Linked DNA regions of Homo sapiens: regions 2, 3, 4 and 5 are each linked to region 1. Evidence: promoter capture Hi-C in 16 types of primary human blood cells and fetal thymus (Javierre and others, 2016). All regions are on one chromosome and are shown on one strand. Each heading gives the region's core, a stretch centred on a gene start or on the middle of the fragment in contact. The rest is flanking DNA. Distances are from core to core; before and after follow the strand shown.

Evidence for each region. The method cuts DNA at HindIII sites, captures the fragments that hold promoters and counts their contacts. A CHiCAGO score of 5 or more calls a contact.
Region 2: a fragment that was not itself captured here is called in contact with the fragment with the promoter of ZNF827 in region 1 in 1 of 17 cell types (naive B cells); the score reaches 5.8 in naive B cells.
Region 3: a fragment that was not itself captured here is called in contact with the fragment with the promoter of ZNF827 in region 1 in 1 of 17 cell types (total B cells); the score reaches 5.1 in total B cells.
Region 4: a fragment that was not itself captured here is called in contact with the fragment with the promoter of ZNF827 in region 1 in 1 of 17 cell types (total B cells); the score reaches 6.3 in total B cells.
Region 5: the fragment with the promoter of C4orf51 here is called in contact with the fragment with the promoter of ZNF827 in region 1 in 6 of 17 cell types (endothelial precursors, M0 macrophages, erythroblasts and 3 more); the score reaches 6.3 in endothelial precursors.

What each region holds. Positions count from the first base shown.
Region 1 is chr4:145,936,910-145,941,043 of GRCh38, forward strand. It overlaps ZNF827 (zinc finger protein 827), which reads right to left and starts at 1,914. Exons shown (of 15, transcript NM_001306215.2): 1 at 1,456-1,914. The coding sequence starts at 1,498. RefSeq lists silencers at 1-156, 257-666, 787-856 and an enhancer at 1,231-1,290. The HindIII fragment of the contact is 1,765 bases long and covers 1,656-3,420 here.
Region 2 is chr4:146,231,311-146,235,304 of GRCh38, forward strand. It overlaps REELD1 (reeler domain containing 1), which reads left to right. Exons shown (of 8, transcript NM_001354631.1): 8 at 1-957. Among named protein-coding and RNA genes, the nearest start is that of REELD1, 19 kb to the left of the region's middle. The HindIII fragment of the contact is 2,516 bases long and covers 89-2,604 here.
Region 3 is chr4:146,207,807-146,211,673 of GRCh38, forward strand. No RefSeq gene overlaps it. Among named protein-coding and RNA genes, the nearest start is that of REELD1, 4.8 kb to the right of the region's middle. The HindIII fragment of the contact is 8,496 bases long and covers 1-3,867 here.
Region 4 is chr4:146,259,602-146,263,577 of GRCh38, forward strand. All of the region lies in intron 10 of SLC10A7 (solute carrier family 10 member 7), which reads right to left. Among named protein-coding and RNA genes, the nearest start is that of REELD1, 47 kb to the left of the region's middle. The HindIII fragment of the contact is 832 bases long and covers 950-1,781 here.
Region 5 is chr4:145,677,487-145,681,750 of GRCh38, forward strand. C4orf51 (chromosome 4 open reading frame 51) reads left to right here and starts at 2,660. Exons shown (of 6, transcript NM_001080531.3): 1 at 2,660-2,950. The coding sequence starts at 2,718. The HindIII fragment of the contact is 4,880 bases long and covers 2,581-4,264 here.

The DNA.
Region 1 (4,134 bases), core at 664-3,163:
TAGTGTGGGGGGAGAGAAGAGAAATTGACCCTCCGTCTCCCCCGACCCCTCCCTCCGGCGCCTCCCGCGTCCCCTCCTCCCCGTCACCCCGCCCCACGCCTTCTCCCCTGCCCCCTCTTCCCTGCATTCAAGGAGCCGGGCGGCCCCGGGGGATATTTTTAGTTGCTTCTTTCTCCTTCACTTTTAGCTTTAGCAGCATCTCGAAACACTCAAAGCGGAGAAAGACTGGGGGGTTGGGGGGAGCTGGAGAGGGAGTGGGGGAAAAGTTAAGAGTCGCGCAAAGAAAAGCCGGAGGGAGGGCGGAGAGGGACCGGGGGCGCGGGTGGAGGAGGGGAAGGGGACCGGGCCGTGCCGGCGGGTGTGTGTCTCCAGTTGGCGTGTGTGGCTGCCGCCGGGGAGGGCTGTGATGCACTTTAGTCCTGGACTCTGCTCAGGCTCGCCAAGGAGGGGGTCTGAGAGCCCGAGTCTCGCCCGGCTCCGTCTGCTCCGACTGACCCCGCATTTTATTGCGGCCAGGAGCCCTGCTCCTCCCTCTCCTCCGCTCTGCAGGGACCTCGCGCGCCGCGAGCCGCCCTGCCTCCTGCCTTCGCCTCGGCGCAGCTCCCGCACCCCACATCCGCCCGCCGCTGCCCGGCCTCGCCCCCCGCCCGGCCGCCCCGCGCCCCGGCGCGCCCCCTCGCCTCGGCGCCGCGGGAGCAGCCGCCCGGCGGCGCGTGTGTACCCGTGTGTTTGTGTGCGGTGCCCCTACACCCTCCCCAGCCGCTCCCGCCTCGCCCGCCCCCGACTCCCCTCCTCCGCCGCCGCCTCCTCCACCTCCGCCTCCTCCTGCTCCAGCCGCCGCCGCCGCTGCCGCCGGCGGCTCGGGGGCCGACCAACCCCGGCGCAACCTTTAGCCAGGGACGGACCTCTCCCTGGATCCTGTACCCGGCGGCTGCTGCGCGCCCTCTCCCCGACACCCCCAAACGCCATGTCACGGCCCCCAGCCCTCCGCGCGCCCCGACCCCCGCACCCTCAGGCGCCGGAATCCACAAGGAATTTTTTTTTTTTTAAGATTCCAACCTCTCCCACCTCCCCCCACCAAACCCCCGATAAAACCCCCGGCATCCACACTACTCCCCTCCTCCCTTCTCTTGCCCCCTCCCCCCAGCAACCCAGAGTGAGGAGGGGGAAGGGGAGGGAAAGGGAAAAAAAAGCCCGATCTCAAGGAAAAAAAGGGGGGGGGTGAGAGAAAGAAAGAAAAAGAGAGAGAGAATAGAAAGGGCACGGGGCTGATCATCACCAACATGGCTGCCTCAGCATAGACCTAAACGAGGAGTAACCCGGGCTGTGTCTTTGTCAGTTTCACCTCTGTAACCCTAAACTAATGCAGAAAACAACGGAGGAGGCTGCGGAGGGGAAAGAGGAGAGGGAGGGCGAGAAAATGGCACGAGAGGAGGTGGAGAAGGGATGACTTACGTGAGGGAAGGCGCTTGGGCTGCTCCTGCTTCCTCCTGGGCATTTTCCCCCTTTTCTCACATTCTCCTCCTTGGTTAATGTGAGATCAAATAAACCCCCGTGGGGGCAGAGAGGCAGACACTGGCAGGAGCGGGGAGGTAGTTGGGGGGCGGGCGGGCGGGCAGGGGGAAACCCCTTCTCCGGTGTGTGCAATGGGTTGAAGCTTGTTTCCTGGAGCCAGAAGAGGGGTTTTCTTCTTTTCTTTCCTTTCTTTTTTCCTTTTTTTTTTTTTTTTAAATTTTTGGTCGTGCACCTGGCTTGTCCCCGAGCGTAATATTCTTCAATGGAAACGGATCTAATAGGTGTGAGTGTGTGTGTGTCCTATGCTCGCGTGTGTGATGGGAGGTATAAATAAATGAGTGCCGGTGCGGCGGTGTCTATGGCCGCGCTCTGTGTCTCCGAGCCCCTAACACTAATGTCGGGATCAAAGGGCAGCGGCGGCGGCAGCACAGCTCACAGCTCGCTCTCTTGCTCTCTCTCTCTCTCTTTCTCGCTCTCTCTCCTCTCGCGCTCTCTCTCTCGCTCTCTCTCTGTCACACACACACACACACAAGAGGCACAGACTGAGGGAAAGAGCGAGAGCTACACACACACACACGCACGCACACACACACACAGAGCAAAGAGGAAAGTGCCCCAAGGCTCCCAGGGCGGACTCAGCCTCGGATTTACAACCGCTCTGTCTGGAAAGAATGGGGGGCGCGCGTGCGGGGGTGGGATGGAGTTCTTCAAATTTATCCCGCTAGTCACCAAATCTAGGGGGAAAAAGTTTTTCTCACTCTTTAAACAACGATTAGTTCATTATTTTACTGACTTTTAAAAAGGAAATAAATTTCTCTCTTCACTTTCTTTTGTTTATTAAGCTACATTTTGTTCTGTATGAAATTCTGCAGGCTTTTGTCCCTACCCCATCACCTTAAATCTGGAGGTTATCGTCTCCCACACACTCTTCAAAAACATTCCAAAAAAACTAATTTAAAAAAAATGAAGACAACATATGGTGAAATCAATAACTTGGTTGACAGTTGACAGAATAAGTGCCCAGTTTTGGAGTGTCCACTGGAGTTAAAACTGAAAAATGCTCCTAAATGAACATTACAGCTACTTGACAAAGAGAGGAAAATAAGATTAGGTCACCCCTGATGGTTGCTTTAACTGCTACGTGATACTCCTAGAGTGCACACAGCAATCTTTACTTCGGAAATTCACTTTTTCCCCTGCTATATACTGCAGGTATATGAAGTTTACCCTGAAGCAATTCCAGTGTGCATTATGAGCCCAATATAGCAGTTTTCATTAACTGATACATACTTTCATTACCTTACAAATCACACATCTTTCTTCAAAGAGAGACATAAAGGAGAAAAATAGAAAAGGACGGGTCTCACTAGAGCACAAAAGGTACTTGGTGAAAGAGGACTGTTCTCTTTGTGACTTGCAGTCATTTGGATAAAAGTTCACTCAGAGGTTGTTAATGATTTAAACTCCAAAACCTGCTACTATAATTGAAATAAAAATGGTCTGAAGAAGAGTTGTTTCATAAAACTCTCTTTGTAAGAGGAAACTTTGAACTTAGCAGAATACATTATATGTCATGAGTCATGTAGCTAGAAAATAAAAAGGTGCATTATTTAACTACATCTTCCCTTTTTAGCTTTTTTAAAACTCTGACTCATCATCTTATTATGTTAAATATTTTCCTACCAATTTTTAAATAGACCTTTTCATCAAAGAAAGTGGAGGCACAGTAAAGACATAGAACATTAAAATGACACTCTATAAGCCTACATGGATAACTCATGCCTCTTTGAGGTTGAGTTAATTCTTACAACTTCAGTGGTGTTAAAGAGAGCCATGGGGGTTAAATTCTGACTTGCCTTATTAAAAATAATAATAAGGCTTTATATTGCACACTTTTATAAGTGAAGCTTAAAGAGTGCTGTATCTCCCAAAAGATGTCTTTCACTGATAGAGAAATCTCACGTTCAACCCCTCCCTGCCAACTCCCCCCAAAAGATCTAGCTTCCCAGTAACAAGTAATGCTATTGAAAGCGAGGTTTGAAACACCTGCATGAATTCAATCTAAAACCAAAACAGAGAGCAGTCAAGTTTAAAATGGAGCACCCTGTAATCCCAGCACTTTGGGAGGCGGAAGTGGGCAGATCACGAGGTCAAGAGATCGAGACCATCCTGGCCAACATGGTGAAATCCCGTCTCTACTAAAAATACAAAAATTAGCTGGATGTAGTGGCACACTCCTGTAGTCCCAGCTACTTGGGAGACTGAGGCAGGAGAATCGCTTGAACCTGGGAGGCGGAGGTTGCAGTGAGCCGAGATCGGGCCACTGCACTCCAGCCTGGCGACAGAGCGAGACTCCATCTCAAAAAAAAAAAAAAAAAAAAAAAAGGAGCATCATCCTTAAACCAGTTCTTCCTCAAATGTTGGTTTTAAAAAACTGGTAGTTAGGTTGCCCTGCATTATAATTTGAAATATAACTATCTTTCCACTCAGGTCAAATTCAATTTGCCATAATTTTGACTATTGTCGGTGACATTGGACTTGAAATTAATATATTAATGATAAATTAGAGCCCATCCTTTCCAAGTAGACCAATGCTCTGAGTGTGTAGAATCTTTACAG
Region 2 (3,994 bases), core at 97-2,596, 290 kb after region 1:
TGCCAAAGGTCAGGCTGAAAAACATTATTATACCAGCATAGTTTGAAGAACAGTCTTTACTTGTCTTTTCAGGGAATATCAGGAAGAAAGCTTCATGGATGAAGGTCATCTACCTGATCTCATAACCTTATGAAGATTGCTTTGATTTAACAGTGGCTCCACAGATACTATCTGAGGTCAAAACAACAGATCTGAATATAACTCTTAAATATGCTCACCTAATATAGCACATAGGAATTAGCTGCCTTTTCAGAGTGAAACCTATTATAGAGTCATCATTTTAATGCAGAAACAAAAATCACTACAAATTCGGAAAGGATATTTGTTTATTGAACACCTAATTCATACGGGAACTGTGCTAAGTAGTTTGCGTATATCTTCACATTTAACTCTCACAAAAATTTAATGAGGAATAAGTTCAGTAGCTTTCCAAGGAGAATGAGGCTTTCCTTATACCTCAATTTAACAATTTTTAAAAATTGAGTGTTCAGGAAAGAGACAGCTCCTGCCTTTTCCACACCTCGCTTTAGCTCATTGGTCATCAATTCCAAGACTCTCTCCTCCTGGATTCTGGGCTAGGTAGCTCTGTTCCCTGGCTTCAGCCATTAGATGCATGGAGACCTAGGTAATTTGTGCATTCACAAATGAAAGTGTTCTAGGAATACTGTGGAAAGAAACAAAAGTACTGTAGTCTAATAAGGCCACAGATATCCCTTCTGTATGTCTAGCCCTCTAAAAGACGTTCTCCCCAAGAAGCAAACAAGGGACCCCATTAGTGGAGAGCTTTCATCTGGCCACATCACATCAGAGCCAGATGCACCATGTATGCAAACTTTTTTAGATCTTTTCTGTCTAAGAGAGAATTTTCCTATGTAAACAGACTGTTTTGCTTGTCTATTGATGTGAACAAATTACCTCTAGGCTTAGTAGTTGAAAATAAAATCACCACCAACACCACCATTTATCATCTTTCATGATTCTGGGGTTGCCTGGGCTCAGCTGGGCAGTTCTTCTGCTCTCAGTGTTAATGAATGGGATGGGGCAGCCTAGTTGACTCCCTCACATGGCTTGCAGTTGGTGTTGGCTGCCAGCTAAGGGCCCAAATGGGTCTGCTGAAGAATGTGGGAAGCAATATGGTTCTGTTCTTTGCGTCTTCTTATGCCATATGGTGGCTGAGTTCCAAGAGGAAGTGTGCCAAGCACACAAAACCAAAGGCTGCATATCTCTTAAGACCTAGCCCTTGGAAGTTGTCATAGTGAGTCACAGGACCAACCCTCATTATTCAAAAGGAAGGGCAACAGATTTCACTTTTTGATGGGAGAAGTGACAGAGGATTTGCAGCCATCTTTAATTCACTTGCCCTTCTGCTTAGACTGCTGATCTGCCATGGGGGGATTGTGTGAGACTTGAAGAGATGCCATTCATCCCTGGGTGATGAGGGAGGTGAGAGGAGTCTCCAGATTTCAGGGTCCGGTATTTTTCTCTTCTCCAGTTGGACTTCCAGCTTATACAAAACAGTAAAGTGATGCAGAAGGGTTAGCCAGGTCTCTGAGCCTCATCTTCCTCATCAGAGAAAAGGACATCACAAAATCATTCAGCTCTTTTGGTTGATGTAAAGATTGAATGCATACACAATATTTAGCTATCCATAACCAAACTGACATACCATTGTCATTAATATTATCTTGAAGCTGCAACACTGTCTTTACGTGTAGCCCATTTAGAGAAATTCTGTGATCATGAAAAAAAGTCACTTTCTTTTCTTTTTTTTTTTTTTTTTTGAGACGGAGTCCCGCTCTTTAGCCCAGGCCGGATTGCAGTGGCACAATCTCGGCTCACTGCAAGCTCCGCCTCCCAGGTTCATGCCATTCTCCTGCCTCAGCCTCCCGAGTAGCTGGGACTACAGGCGCCCGCCACCGCGCCCGGCTAATTTTTTGTATTTTTAGTAGAGACGGGGTTTCACCGTGTTAGCCAAGATGGTCTCGATCTCCTGACCTTGTGATCCGCCCGCCTCGGCCTCCCAAAGTGCTGGGATTACAGGCGTGAGCCACCGAAGTCACTTTCTTTCTATGACAAATTCTCCTCTTCTTCCTTTTTTTTTTTTTTTTTTCTGAGATGGAGTCTTGCTCTGTCACCAGGCTGGAGTGCAGTGGTGCAATCTCAGCTCACTGCAACCTCTGCCTCCTGTGTTCAAGCAATTCTCTTGCCTCAGCCTCCTGAGTAGCTGGGACTACAGGCACGCACCACCATGTCTAGCTAATTTTTGTATTTTTAGTAGAGACGGATTTTCATCATGTTGGTCAAGATGGTCTCTATCTCTTAACCTTGTGATCCGTCCACCTGGGCCTCCCAAAGTGCTGGGATTACAGGCGTGAGCCACTGCACCCGGCTGACAACTTCTCTTGAAGCAAACTTCCCACCTCACTTCCCTGGCCCAGTCACTTGAAGGCCACACGAGTTGTCATGGTAGTCACTGGCTACAATTCCTACCACGTATCAGATAATTTTTTGCTGCAGCATTCTGACTAGACTCTTTTTTGGCCAGGGCAGCTGGAGTCCATGGGCCTATACTCAAACTACATAAGTGATCGTGAAGGTCCTCTAAGCTTCACAGAAGCCCCAGAGGGGAATGAGTAGGAAGTGTTAACTTAACCTGAAAGCTCTTACTAAAGCATAAAGCCATTAAAAGTAAAAAGAAAAAAAAAAAAAAAGAAGGGAAAGGACTCAAATACAACATCTTAAAATAGTTTTTGTGTTTTGTAGGAACAGCTACAAAATTGCTCAGCCAACCTCTTCTTGGAGGAAAGAAGGTATGCGGCTAAACACATATTTGAGGGAAAATGATGGATAAATAATTGCTGAAAACTTATTATATTTTAAACTAATGCTTTTATATCTATAGTGCTAATTTAATAACTACACACCATGGGTAGTGGTAGCCTTAATCTTTTTATATTCAGAGACTATTTTTGATATTTTCAATTGATTTTTTCCCATAGATAGAATTTTAGTAAAGTACAACTTAACATTTTACTGTAGCTTGGCTTGCTGTCCCACTGTTGAGGCTATCTGCATTAATTTGCTGTTATGCTGTTTGTTTTCCTTAAAAAAAAAAATTAATTAGCAAAAAAAAAAAAGTCAGCAAACCAGTAAATATTTAGACATGGGTCACACTTTATTTGCAAGTTATCTGGGAAGGGCTGGCAATTTATGAATAAATTTCAGATGATGGCCATGTCCTCTCCCTGTTTCAGACTTCCAGTATTAATCAGTGATCCTAGCCTTTCTGGGACACAGACTGCGTGTTCTGATTTCATTTCACTCCAGCCTATCCCTCTTCTAAAAGTAGCAAGAAACTTCTTTTATTCAAGTGAAATTAATTTGCATTAACTTGTTTTATTAAACTTGAGAACTTCTCCAGGCTTACAGTATTCTGAGCACTCTGCTCCATCTGCCCTGGCATGGTGCAAAACCAGGGGTGGTCATCTCTGGCTCCTGGTTTAGCATATCAGGAAGACATTAGTGATAAAAGGAAGACTAGTGGTTTGGTTGTTTATTCTGCTCTTTAAATTCACAAAGAAAATGGGAGCGTTTTGAGACTCCTGTTCTACCCATGACGATTGAGGCCACCAGGACAACTACAGCCTGTCAGATGTATTCCAGAGATTTTTTGCTTTCAAAACATAAATCAGTTCATGTTGCTGTCTCTGAATTCCCTAATGGTTTTCCATCTCTCTCAGAATAAAATATGGACATCTGATTGGGCTATGTCCTGCGAGAGCTGGCCCTCTGACATTGCCCTCTTCCTGTGTGTTCACTGTGCTGCTCTGAGCTCTCCGGGAAGCTCTGTGCAGCTCCCTTGCTCTCCTGTTGTCTGGAACCCTGTTCCCCCAGGCATCCAGCCTTCAGAGCTTTCTTCTAGAGCTGCCTCAGCAGAGAGCCTTCTCCTGACCATTGCAACCTCTAATCAACCTAGCCTCCTACACTGTTTAAT
Region 3 (3,867 bases), core at 346-2,845, 270 kb after region 1:
CCAGCTCTGGAGCTGAGTCTTAGAGCAAAAGAAGGAATTGGTCCTGCAGAAATGGCCCATGAACGTGGACCAGAGAAACACTTTTGGAGTTTGGCATTTGCAGGTTCCTTGAAAAAATGTTTTAAAATTAAAAGTTAAAAAATTTGATGAAGGACTTTCTCATTCAAAGATTTTAGTATTTCCCCATTGCCAAGGGAGATTGGGGGCTAACCAGACAATTAGTTGCTTCTTGCTGCAGAGTGGATAAGAGGTTTGGATTGCCTCTTTAAAGGAGAGTAAACCCTGTTTGTTGTGACTGCTTCTGTGATGGGCGATCAAAGGGCAGTGTGGACGATGAGAATATAAAGGATGACATTTAGATACTCAACCATAATGCTGCATTCTTTACTTTTAAAAAGAGAGAGAAGGAAGAAAAGAAAATATATCCTTACAATTTTTAAATGTTCTTTAATTTGAGAAAACCCGCCATGGATGGAAGGAAGGACAAACATTTGACATTGTTCAATATTGAGGGCTCCTGAAGTCTAGTTACCCTGAAATAGCTTTTACCTTCTTGCTTTGAAGTAGTGGGTCCCAAAATCAGTTTGCCCGCTTCTGGTAGGTTTGCTGGGTTAGGATGTGAGGTCTGCAGAGAAAGAAAGTTCCGGCTAGATTTCTTACTTACTCAGAGTGGCCCTCCAAACCCTGGTCCGTATCAGAGAAGCAGGAAACCAAAGTCTTGTCTCCCACCCTTAATTAGCTTTTTGGAACCATCCCACATCACTTTTTCTGTATGTTTCCATGTTCGTGACTATACAATGGCCATTGTAACAGCTTAGAATTTAGGGGCACAGGCTCCAGAGCTACTCTGCAGGGGTTTGAAACTTAGCGCCTCCAATCATGGGCAATGTGACTTCAAACAAGTTGCTTTAATCTTTCTGTGCCTTAGCTTTCTCATCTGTAAAGTGGAAATGGGATTAGAACATATTTTATAGGATCATTGTGAGGATTAAGTGAGTTCATACATGTTCAATGTTAGCTGTGTGCCTGGCACATGGTAAGAGTTCAATACATGGGACCTATTATCCTTGGAAAGGTTGGAAAAAGGATGCATTAAAATAAGTGGAACACATAGAGTTCTGAACAGAGAGATCCATGTTCCTTTGTCTTCTTTAGCGTAGGTCTATGCTACATTATTTCACAGATAACTTACGATGTTCATAGTGCTGTGCTACGCATCCAAGCTCGGCAATTTTAAGACAATTCCTACCCTACAGGGATTTAGAGCTAGGTCAGTAGGAAAGATGGCACACTTAAAGCTGATCAGTTGCAATCCAGGGCGGTGTATGGGATCAAGTGCCTACACAAGGATAAAGGGTATACATGGTGTAGGATCCTAAAAAGATACGATAAAACATTCATATACGTATAATAGAAGTCCCCAGAATTATTCAATGCCAATCTTTGAGGTTCATTTTTGCATGCAGTCACAAGATATGAATGTTTAGGCTTTGAAAAGGGAAAAAGAGCCTCTTAATCAACTCCAGGTAATGCTTTTTCTGTCCTGCTATAACGATACATGATCATATTTCTCTAATCATGAATCTCGTTGTTTTGCAATTATCTGCTGATGCATTGCTCTGCTTTACCAGCCCTGGAGGAGTGAAGACTATGTGTTATTCATCTTTATATCCCCTGCCCAGAGCCCATGACCTGCACTTAGTAGGCATTTAATAAAGGTTGGCTGAAGGAATGAATAAATGCTCAGAGTACATTTCCAGTGTAACTAAAATTGAATGCCACCAACTCCCCTCTTTTGGACATAAATTATAGTACTTGTCCAGACTCCCTAAATGCCAATTTTTGATCCCCACTTTGCCTCCATACAAAAGGTCTCCAAGTCTTACTTCCATTTACTCTCTCAACATCTCAGTCCCCACTATCCTGCGTCAAATGCACCTCATTTTATGTCTGGATAATTACTACAAACACAGCTAGTGTTCACACCTTTGTTCAAACTCTCTCTCCTGCTTTGAATATCCTTTTACCCATCTCATCTGTCTAAACTCCACCTAACCTCTAAAATCAACCATATTTTCCTGATTCTACTTGAAATATTCTGGCATCCCAGACTCTGGTAACCTGGCTTTTATCTCTCTTCTGATCATAGCTTGTTTACTGCTCTGCATCACTGCTAGAGAGCATCTAATCCTTACAACACCTTTGTGAGAAATCTAATAGTCTCCCCATTTTGCAGATGGTAAAACTGAGGCTCACCAGCATTAACTTTCCAAGGTCATGTAACTAGTTTGCTGTCTGACTTCAGAGCTCTTTCTTCTTTACCTTGCTACCTCACCCCAAGTAAAATGTCAGTTCCTAGGGAGAAGATCCTGCCGATACTTTATCAGCAGACTCTCTTGCAAGTTGCTTTACAAATAGTAAGAATTCAAATATTAATTAACTTAGAAATCCTGTTTGACTGTACTGTTCTTTAACAGGGATAATGAAGGAGAGGATTATTGGGTAGAATAAAAGCACTAGGCTGGGCACAGTGGCTCACACCTGTAATCCCAAGATTTCGGGAGGCAGAAGCAGGAGGATTGCTTGAGCCCAAACAGGAGTTTGAGACTAGCCTAAGCAATATGGTGAAACTCTATCTCTACAAAAAATACAGAAATTAGCCAGGAGTGGTGGCACATGCCTATATTCCCAGCTACTCAGGAGGCTGAGGCTGGAGGATCACCTGAGCCTGGGAGTTGAGGCTGCAGTGAGCTGTGATTGCACCATTGCACTCCAGCCTGGATGACAGAGTGAGACCTTGTCTCAAAAGAAAAAAAAAAGGCACTCAACTTTTTTTTTTTAAATGGCAGAAAGTGCACAGTAGCATGGAGGATGATGCAAAAGTCAGCAGACCTGCTAAACGTACATGAATGACCATTGACTTCCCACTTTCATGTAGAGTTTAAAGAGAATTGTATTTTTCTCTTACATAGATTATCCCAGCACTCCAGAAATCTTCAGATAGTTTTAAAAAATCTATCTAAACATTAAAATGCTAATCACAATGATGATACTGGAATAGCAGATTTCTATGTAAAAACACCAGTCAATCTCAGCAGGAAGTCATTACCAAGGTAGGAAAAACATTTGGATAGGAAAGACTGTTCATGAGTTACAAAAGCCATTATCTTCATCTCCAAGATCTTTGAAAATGAAGAAAATGTCCACTTGTCTGCTGGAGTGAAGGAGCAGGAAACAGGACTAGAATAGTGAGCTCAACAGGTTCCTCCTTCATTTGCAAACTTTTCCAAGGCAGACTCTTAAACCAGGAGTGAGTGTGGGATGGTGTCAACGCAGGTTATAATTACGTGCCAGACTTTAATGCATGCCATCTCAAGCTGTTTTAAGAGTAGCTCATTCTTATGCCTTTATAACTAAAATAAAACCTTGAAAATGTGTATCATTTTCTTGCTGGAAGAAATAGAAGAGATTATTTAATTCAAACCTTTTTATTTTATACCTGAGGCAACCCAGAGAAGTTAAGTGATTTACCGAAGGACACAGAGTATCTGATTTATAACCATAAAACCCACCCCAAGACTTTCCCTTGGTATGACGTTAATATTAACTGTTCTACTCAGGGCCAGGGGATGTTAAGGTAACAGATTCAATCATGTTAATATATCAAGTCCAGCCAAATTGCTAGTGTGAAATGACCTCAAGCAGATTCCCAAAATAAAAGCAACAAACAAACAAAACACAGTATTTTCTTGCTTTCCGGGTGCACACAGCTGGGTCTCCTTCATGTGGGTGGGGATTGGAGGCCAACTCACTGCTGTCTCTCGGGCTTCGGGCTTAGCGCATGATCTGGCTCAGAGCCACACTCTC
Region 4 (3,976 bases), core at 116-2,615, 320 kb after region 1:
AAAATCAGGGCTGAATGTTTAAACTCCACAGTGAATGTCTTCATGGAACTCAAATGAATACTACTTCATGAGTCTACTATTCTATTATACCAAGAGCTGGGTGTGTATATTTTATAAGCTGCTGCCTATAGAGCATAATTTTTGAGCTTCTATAACTAACACAATTCAGACACTAGCAGTCTAACTATTATTACTAATTGTTTTAATGCAGCCACAGTCTTCAGAAGTGCTATGTATGTATCAGCTTCTTCAACTGAATAGCTTTAATAGCCTAGCTTTCTTGTTTCTCTGATAACAGCCTCTGAAAAGGACCTAAGCTCCTAACCATGTACAATGATGGCACATAAATAACTTTTTATTAGAACACAACAAGGAAGGCTTAGCTTTTTCAATTATTTTTACCTTCTAATAAATTTCAAACCTTTATGCACAAAATGTGTTTCATGGTTACTTTCTTTTTCACAGCCTCACATATCATTGCCATAAACTGAAAACACTTAACTCTTCCCAAACATAGTCTCTGAGAGCTTCTAAAGTACATGCTTAGATTTTTTGCAGTTTCTGTCTTTATACTAACATAAAAAATGAAGGGCCTTTTTTTAAAAAAAAGCTTTAAAAATCTACTGCTGAAAAGCAGCATCTGATACTATAGTTTTGAAAAGCTGTTACAATGAGAAAATAAAATCTGAACACAACTCCTCCTGTTTCCAAGAAACGTTATTCATTCCTTGGCCCAAAGAGGTGATGCTAAGACATTGGGGGATGGGAGTGGAGTAAATGTGAGGCTAAAGGGAGCAAGTGATAGAAGTATCATGATATTTTGTCCCTAAAAATGACCAGAGCAGGATTTGCTAACCCCAGATTTGAGGACTGAGGCTGCTGGGCTAAACCACCTATGTTGTCCATTCTTAGCTAAGAATCTGGGCTCTGTGTCATTCAGTCTTCAGCAAGCTTAAGTGATCTCAGAAGGGAAGCCATAGAGATAGTCCCAGATGCTGCTGCTACAATAAGTAAACAAAAAGTTCTATTGATGAGGAAACTGAAGCACCTAGTGGTCAGGAAAATTTCTTAGTGGTAGGCTCTAAACTGCGACTCAGGCAACCTGAATTTCCAGTTCTCCATATCAGGTAAGGTCAGTTCCAGATGCCATGGGCACTGCAGCTGCTGTGAAAAGGGAGAGGGCCTGGCATGCAAAACACTTTCAAGTCCAGCTGTCCTTTTGGAACTCATTCTCCTTGAAGACCTCCCAGAAGCACTTCCAGGGGCAGTATGGTGTCAAACTCCCGTGCTCGCCACACCAGGACGTCCCTGTGATTTCAAATATGTCAAAAGCAACTGCTAGGGCTACCCCAATAGTGGCAAGGAAGCCATGGATTCAAAGACATAGCTTTGATCCTCAAGAAGCTGAAGGTGGACAAATGATCTCTCCCTTCTTTGGACCCTAATGTCAAGTTTTAGGAAGTTCTCTTCCGGCCATTGCTGGTTCTTCAGCTCTTATCTCTCTCCTTCAAACACACCCTTCTCTCCACTGCTCTTGCAAGGAAGCTGGGACTCTGCAAACACCTGTCCTTCTGGTCAGCTGCTCCTTGCAAGGGGCCCCAGAGGAAGGCTGGAGGAGGAGGAGGAATTTCTTTCTAGTCTGGGCTTCCTGCCAGGCCCCTTCACCAGTGCAGGGGTACTTGGCTCCAGCCTATAACTCATCATGCCCCTGAGGGCCACAGCACCAGCGGGGCAGTGCCCCTTCTCAGATGTCTGAGAACCTGCTCTGCTGCCTCTCTCCAAGCTTCTAGGTTCTGAAAATTCTAACTTCTTCCCTTTGCCCCCCCAGCTCCAGCTACTTTCTGCATTTATTTGTCTTGTTCCCTCACTGTTGCCATTTCCCTTTTCAGCTTTCCAACACTATTTAATCAATTCCCTGTATTCAAAGGGTGATTTCTGCTTTCCTGACGGACCCTGGTTGCCCTCTTCTTACTCTGCCTTGTATAACAGTCATTCCCTTTGCTTGAAAAAGAGAAGGGATCCACGATCACTTGCAGCTGCGGCCAAAATTTGTCAAATTAAATAGGAATTTCCCCCTACCACTTTATGTGCCTGCAATATCTTCTTGCTAGTCATTAATCAAATTTCCTATCTCTACCCCCACAAGTGAATAATGTTAAAAATATGTTTGAAAATAATATATCAGAGAAAAAAATAGCTCCCAGAGGTCATGGTCCAAGTCTCTTTCATGTACCCTCTCTATGCCACTCTCACATGGTGGATTCACAAGTCAATCACTCGCCAGGGGGAGGCCCACTCCAGCGACTCGAGTCATATGTTACTTGTTTTAGGAAACTTTATTTTATTTCAGACAATGCATGTCTGAAAGATGCTAGAAGGCCCATATTGTAAATGGATTCTTTTTCTGACTAACTTCCACCAAAAGCATTTCCCCCACTGCTCTATGGACTTAAAATTTTCCTTTTCAATCATTCAATTATCTACTTTCCTTTTCAATTATTAGAGTTTCTTCTAAATCTATTTATCTCAACCTTTTCTTTCCTTGCTTTCTTTCAACCTCTCCCCCACTTCTCCTCCCTGCAATCCCAAGCATCTACTTAGTACATCTTCAGTTTCTCCAAGGTCAGAATAGAAAGAGAAGTTGGGATAAGCAGAGTGAGAGTTAACACTTCCCATGTTCGAGTTTCCATGCTATGGTGGCGATCATTTGGAAGTGGTGAGCTCAATATCTCTTCTCTAAGGCATCTTTGCTGTTAGCAGCACTATCTGGACAACAACTGGAAACTTGGGGGTCATCTCAATTGTTGAGAGAGGTTGAGAACCTGCTAAAAGCCACTGCACTTACCACACTGTGATTTCTGTCAGCTGGCCAAGAATTCGGCAACATTTGCTCTTCACATCAAATCAGAGAAAATCAGCTGCATCTCTTATTCCAGAAGACTATGTAACGCACCACTCTTTTGTCCTCATCACTCACTTGCTTACTAATCCACTTGCTCACTGATTTATTCAATTAGAACTCATGTAACTGATCAAGTACTCTGTAGAAGGGCTAGGAATCCTGGGAAGCGTGATTTGACCTAACCCTGCATTTCCATAACTTACTGGGCACATGGGTGACCACTCACACCTCCATCCCCCTCACCTTCGTTTAAGAGCACCTCTTCCACAGTCTCGAACCAGTCTCTCTGCCTTCAGAGTTGTCCTGTCCAAGCCATTTTCTACTCTGTGACCAGAGTGAACATTCTAAAGTGCAAATCTGATCGTGTCACATCACGCAGAAGTGTATCACACAGGAGAGATCCCTAAGTGTGGCATAAGAGCATAAGAGGACTTCATGACTTGCCCCAAGCTTTTGCTCTTTTTCACTCTAAATCTCACTACTTCTCTGCTCTTTGACCTGGGCGCTCCAGCCATGATGGGCACCTTGTGGTCCTCCCACCCATCCTTGGCCACGTGCCATTCTCTGTCTTGCCCCTAGGCTTTGCACCTGAGCTCTTTCTGCCTAGAATGCTCATCACCCATTCATGACCCACCCAACTCCTCTGTATCCTTTAGCTCTCAGTTCTTAGGTTGCCTCCTCTGGGAAGCCATCCTCAGAGTCCCAAGGTGGCCTTTAGATCCTTTCCACTCCATGCTTACCTACGCCAGGGCATTCCAGCCTCACCTTCGCTACCCTTATTATCATTGCCTGCTTCTTGTGCATTTCCTTTACCAAGCTGTAAGCTTCTTAGGGTCAGCAACAGTTTCTTCTTCATTGTTGAGCATATGGTAGGTGGTCAAAAGGAGTGTGTTGAATGAATGAACTTGTATTTTTCCAGATTCTGTCATAAAGTTATTGTGCAGACTATCACTCCATTTTTACTACATTTGTTAATTAGAAAAAAAAAGTAATAATTAAAAAACCCAAACAAACTTACTAGAAAGAGTTTTCCTTTTAAAGTAAAATTTAAATATAGGACTCTTTTCATCTTGC
Region 5 (4,264 bases), core at 1,410-3,909, 260 kb before region 1:
AACTTTGTTGCAAACTTTGCATGGTTTGCAAATATTTTCTCCCACTCTGTGGGTTGTCTGTTTACTCTGCTGATTATATTTTTTGCTGTGCAGCTTTTTAGTTTAATTAGGTCCCATCTGTTTATCTTTGTTTTTGTTGCATTTGCTTTTGAGTTCTTGGTCATGAACTCTTTGCCTAAGCCAATGTCTAGAAGAGTTTTTCCTATGTTATCTTCTAGAATTGTTATGGTTTCAGGTCTTACATTTAAGTCTTTGATCCATCTTGAGTCGATTTTTTATAAGGTGAGAGATGAAGATCCAGTTTCATTCTTCTACATGTGGCTTACCGATTACCCAGCACCATTTGTTGAATGGGGTGTCCTTTCCTCACTTTATGTTTTTGTTTGCTTTGTTGAAGATCAATTGGCTCTAAGTATTTGGCTTTATTTCTGGGTTCTCTATTCTGTTCCATTGGTCTATGTGGCTATTTTTGTACCAGTACCATGCTGTTCTAGTAAGTATAGCCTTGTAGTATAGTTTGAAGATGGGCAATGTGATGCTTCCAGATTTGTTCTTTTTGCTTAGTCTTGCTTTGGTTGCACAGACTTTTTTTTTATTGCATGTGAATTTTAGGATTGTTTTTTCTACTTCTGTGAAGAATGATGATGGTATTTTGATGGAAATTGCATTGAATTTATAGATTGTTTTTGTCAATATGGTCATTTTCACAATATTAATTCTACCCATCCCTGAGCAATGTGATGTTTTTCCATTTGTTTGTGTCACCTATGACTTCTTTCAACAGTGTTTTGTAGTTTTCCTTGTAGAGATCTTTTTTTTTTTTTTTTTTTTGAGACGGAGTCTTGCTCTGTCACCCAGGCTGGAGTGCAGTGGCGCAATCTCCGCTCACTGCAAGCTCCGCCTCCCGGATTCACACCATTCTCCTGCCTCAGCCTCCCAAGTAGCTGGGACTACAGGCGCCCGCTACCACACCTGGCTAATTTTTTTATTTTTTAGTAGAGACAGGGTTTCACCGTGTTAGCCAGGATGTCTCGATCTCCTGACCTCGTGATCTGCCCGCCTCAGCCTCCCAAAGTTCTGGGATTACAGGCATGAGCCACCGTGCCTGGCCTCCTTGTAGAGATTTTTATTTTATTTTATTTCATTTTATTTTATTATATTTTATTTTTGTTTGAGATGGTGTCTTGCTCTGTCACCCAGACTGGAGTGCAGTGGCACAATCTTGGCATCTCTGCAAGCTCCACCTCTGGGTTCACGCCATTCTCCTGCCTCAGCCTCCTGAGTAGCTGAGACCACAGGCACCCTCCACCACGCCAGGCTAATTTTTTGTATTTTTAGTAGAGATGGGGTTTCACCATGTTAGCCAGGATGGTCTCAATCTCCTGACCTCGTGATCTGCCTGCCTCAGCCTCCCAAAATGCTGGGATTACAGGCGTGAGCCACCGTGCCCAGCCTCCTTGTAGAGATCTTCCATCTCCTTTGTAAGTTGTATTCCTAAGTATTTTATTTATTTATTTATTTTGTAACTGTTATAAAAGGGGTTGAGTTCTTGATTTGATTCTCAACTTGGTCGCTGTTGGTTTATAACAGTGCTACTGATTTGTGTACATTGATTTTGTATCCTGAAACTTTACTGAATTCATTTATCAGATCTAGAAGCTTTTTGGATGAGTCTTTAGGATTTTCTAGGTATATGATCATATCATCAGTGAGCAGCAACTGTTTGACGTCCTCTTTACTGATTTGCATGTCCTTTATTTCTTTCTCTTGTCTGATTGCTCTGGCTAGGACTTCCAGTACTATGTTGAATAGAAGTAGTGAAAGTGGACATCCTTGTCCTTTTCCAGTTCTCAGGAGGAATGCTTTCAACTTTTCCCCATTCAGTATAATGTTGGCTGTGGGTTTTACATAGATGGCTTTTAGTATTTTGAGGTATGTCCCTTCTATGCCAATTTTGCCTCAAGTTTTAATCCTAAAGGGATGCTGGATTTTGTCAAATGTTTTTTCCGTGTCCATGACCTTAATTCTTAACCCTGGCTGCTCTTTAGAATCCTCCAGGATTAAGCTTTAAACAAATAGTGATGCCTGGGCCCTACTCCACATGAACTAAATCAGAATCTCTGTGGTGGGGGCGTGGACTCCTGCTTATTTTAACAGCTTCCAGGGTGACTCTAGTGTGCAGCCAGCCAGAGCACCACTACTCTGTGACATATGAGAAGCTGTTGAGTCACCTGCTATTGTTGACATTACAAGCAGTTCATGTTCTCTTCCAGACACTTGGAGGTCTTTAGGAGAAGTGAATGCTTGGCACTGTTCTTTCATCTCTTGTTTCCACTTCTTGAACCACCATCATTAAGAATTACTGCTTTATTCATGATAGCAGTAAAATACAAATAATTTTGCCACCTGCTTTCTTGCCATAATTATGAAGCAGCATATTTCATATTTCTTAGAGCAAAATCCAGAAAGTTATATAACTTACAAATTTGTTAGTTAAAATTTACCTCCCTTGGGAGGCAAGGGGATAGCATTTGTGGAATTTTGTGATCTGTTGCTTGGCAACTATATCTAAGACAGTTAAGCTTCTGCACTCTGTGAACTGTTGAGTCACAAAGTTTGGTGAGCCCAGTCAATTGCTTCCTGCTACTAGAAGGAAATTAATTCTTCATTATGCAGAGGACTTGACAAGTTGTTTTCCAGAGAGGCCGTTCGTAGTTATGTCACACTACTTCTACTTGACTCCACAAATTCTTCTGCCCTTTAGCCCTCTTACTTCTCAAGAGTTTGATCTGATCAGACGCAAGGCTGGAGCATCTTGGCAGGATGAAACACGATGGTCAGATTCTTCCGTGACAACATACACAGGCAGTTACCGGAAAAAACAACTGGACAAGTCCATGTGCAGCCAATTTTCTTTTAGAGCAGGACAGCATGAGCCTGAGTGTAAACAGTAAGATTTCTTTGTAATTTGCACCTGGATATATCACTATAAATAGACAAGAGTGCTCTTAGAAGAAAGAGGTATTGTAGACCCTGAGAGACTTCATAGACTTTAACCCTCTGTATTTTCTTTTGTAAATGTCAGCAGGAAGAAGAGCTAAATGTCAGTGACCAGCTGAAATTATGATCCTATTCTCTATTTAGTATTCCTAAAATTACATATAACTACCTAGTCCTGAAAGGATATGGATATGAATATTTGACTAAATTTTGGGTATTTGGGGTTCTCTTTTCAGCAAAAAGGTGCTCCTGAGAATTTCATTTTGTTTCTTGTTTGGTTTTCTGGCTTTCAGGAGCTTAAAACTTCCTTCAGAGGAGGAAGAAATTCATGAAATCCTTCCCTACTCCCTACCTGTGGTTATTGCATTTTCTGAGTGTTTTCTGTAAGCCAGGCCCTGTGATAAGCCCATAATCAAAAAAATTAACTTCAGTTTATAAAGTGACTGGAACTAGGGAAATAAGTAATCAGCACAAAGTAAGGAGATTTTGTGGGTGTCTGGTGAGGGAGGGAGTGTTGTGTGTCTGAAGAGAGCTCAGTAAAATAGGTTTCCTCCAAGCTGGTTTGAAAGGCAGGCGAGGTGGGGAATGGAAAAGCACACTGCATGGAGAAAGAACCATTTAGCCCCAAGCACTGTCAAGGAGCTGCAAGGAGCTAAGTACATTTGAGAAAGTATAAGTGGGGATGTGGAAAAATGTCAGGACTTGTTATGAAATCTATCCATCTGTATATATTAATTGGTAAATATTTTATCCAAATTCTTGGAACATATTTGATAATCAGTTGAATTATTAACCTCAACTTCAGATAAGAGCAATAACCCACATAATACCCTGATAAATATTAGTTATATTTCCATCCAGACCTTTCCAAATCATCAAAACAAGTACTTAAAGATAAAATGTCTCAGAAGTACTTCTCAATTGGGTGCCTTATCTGGTTTAGTCCAACAAAGTATAATTTCTGCATTTTTAAAATAACTCTCAAGTATATTGACACTTAATTAGCTTTGGACATCCCTTTGCTACTTTTTCTGTGATACTTGAGGTTCATCTTGGCCAGGTAGTGAAGTTGTCTTAGTCCATTTTCTGCTTCTATAACACAATACCACAGACTGGGTAACTTATAAATAATAGAAGTTTATTTGGCTCAGGGTTATTGGAGAATGAGTAGTCCAAGAACATGGTGCCAGCATCTGGTGAGGCTCATCTTATTGCAGAGGGTGAAAGGTGGAAGAGAGCACTTATGATAGAGAGAGATACCAGA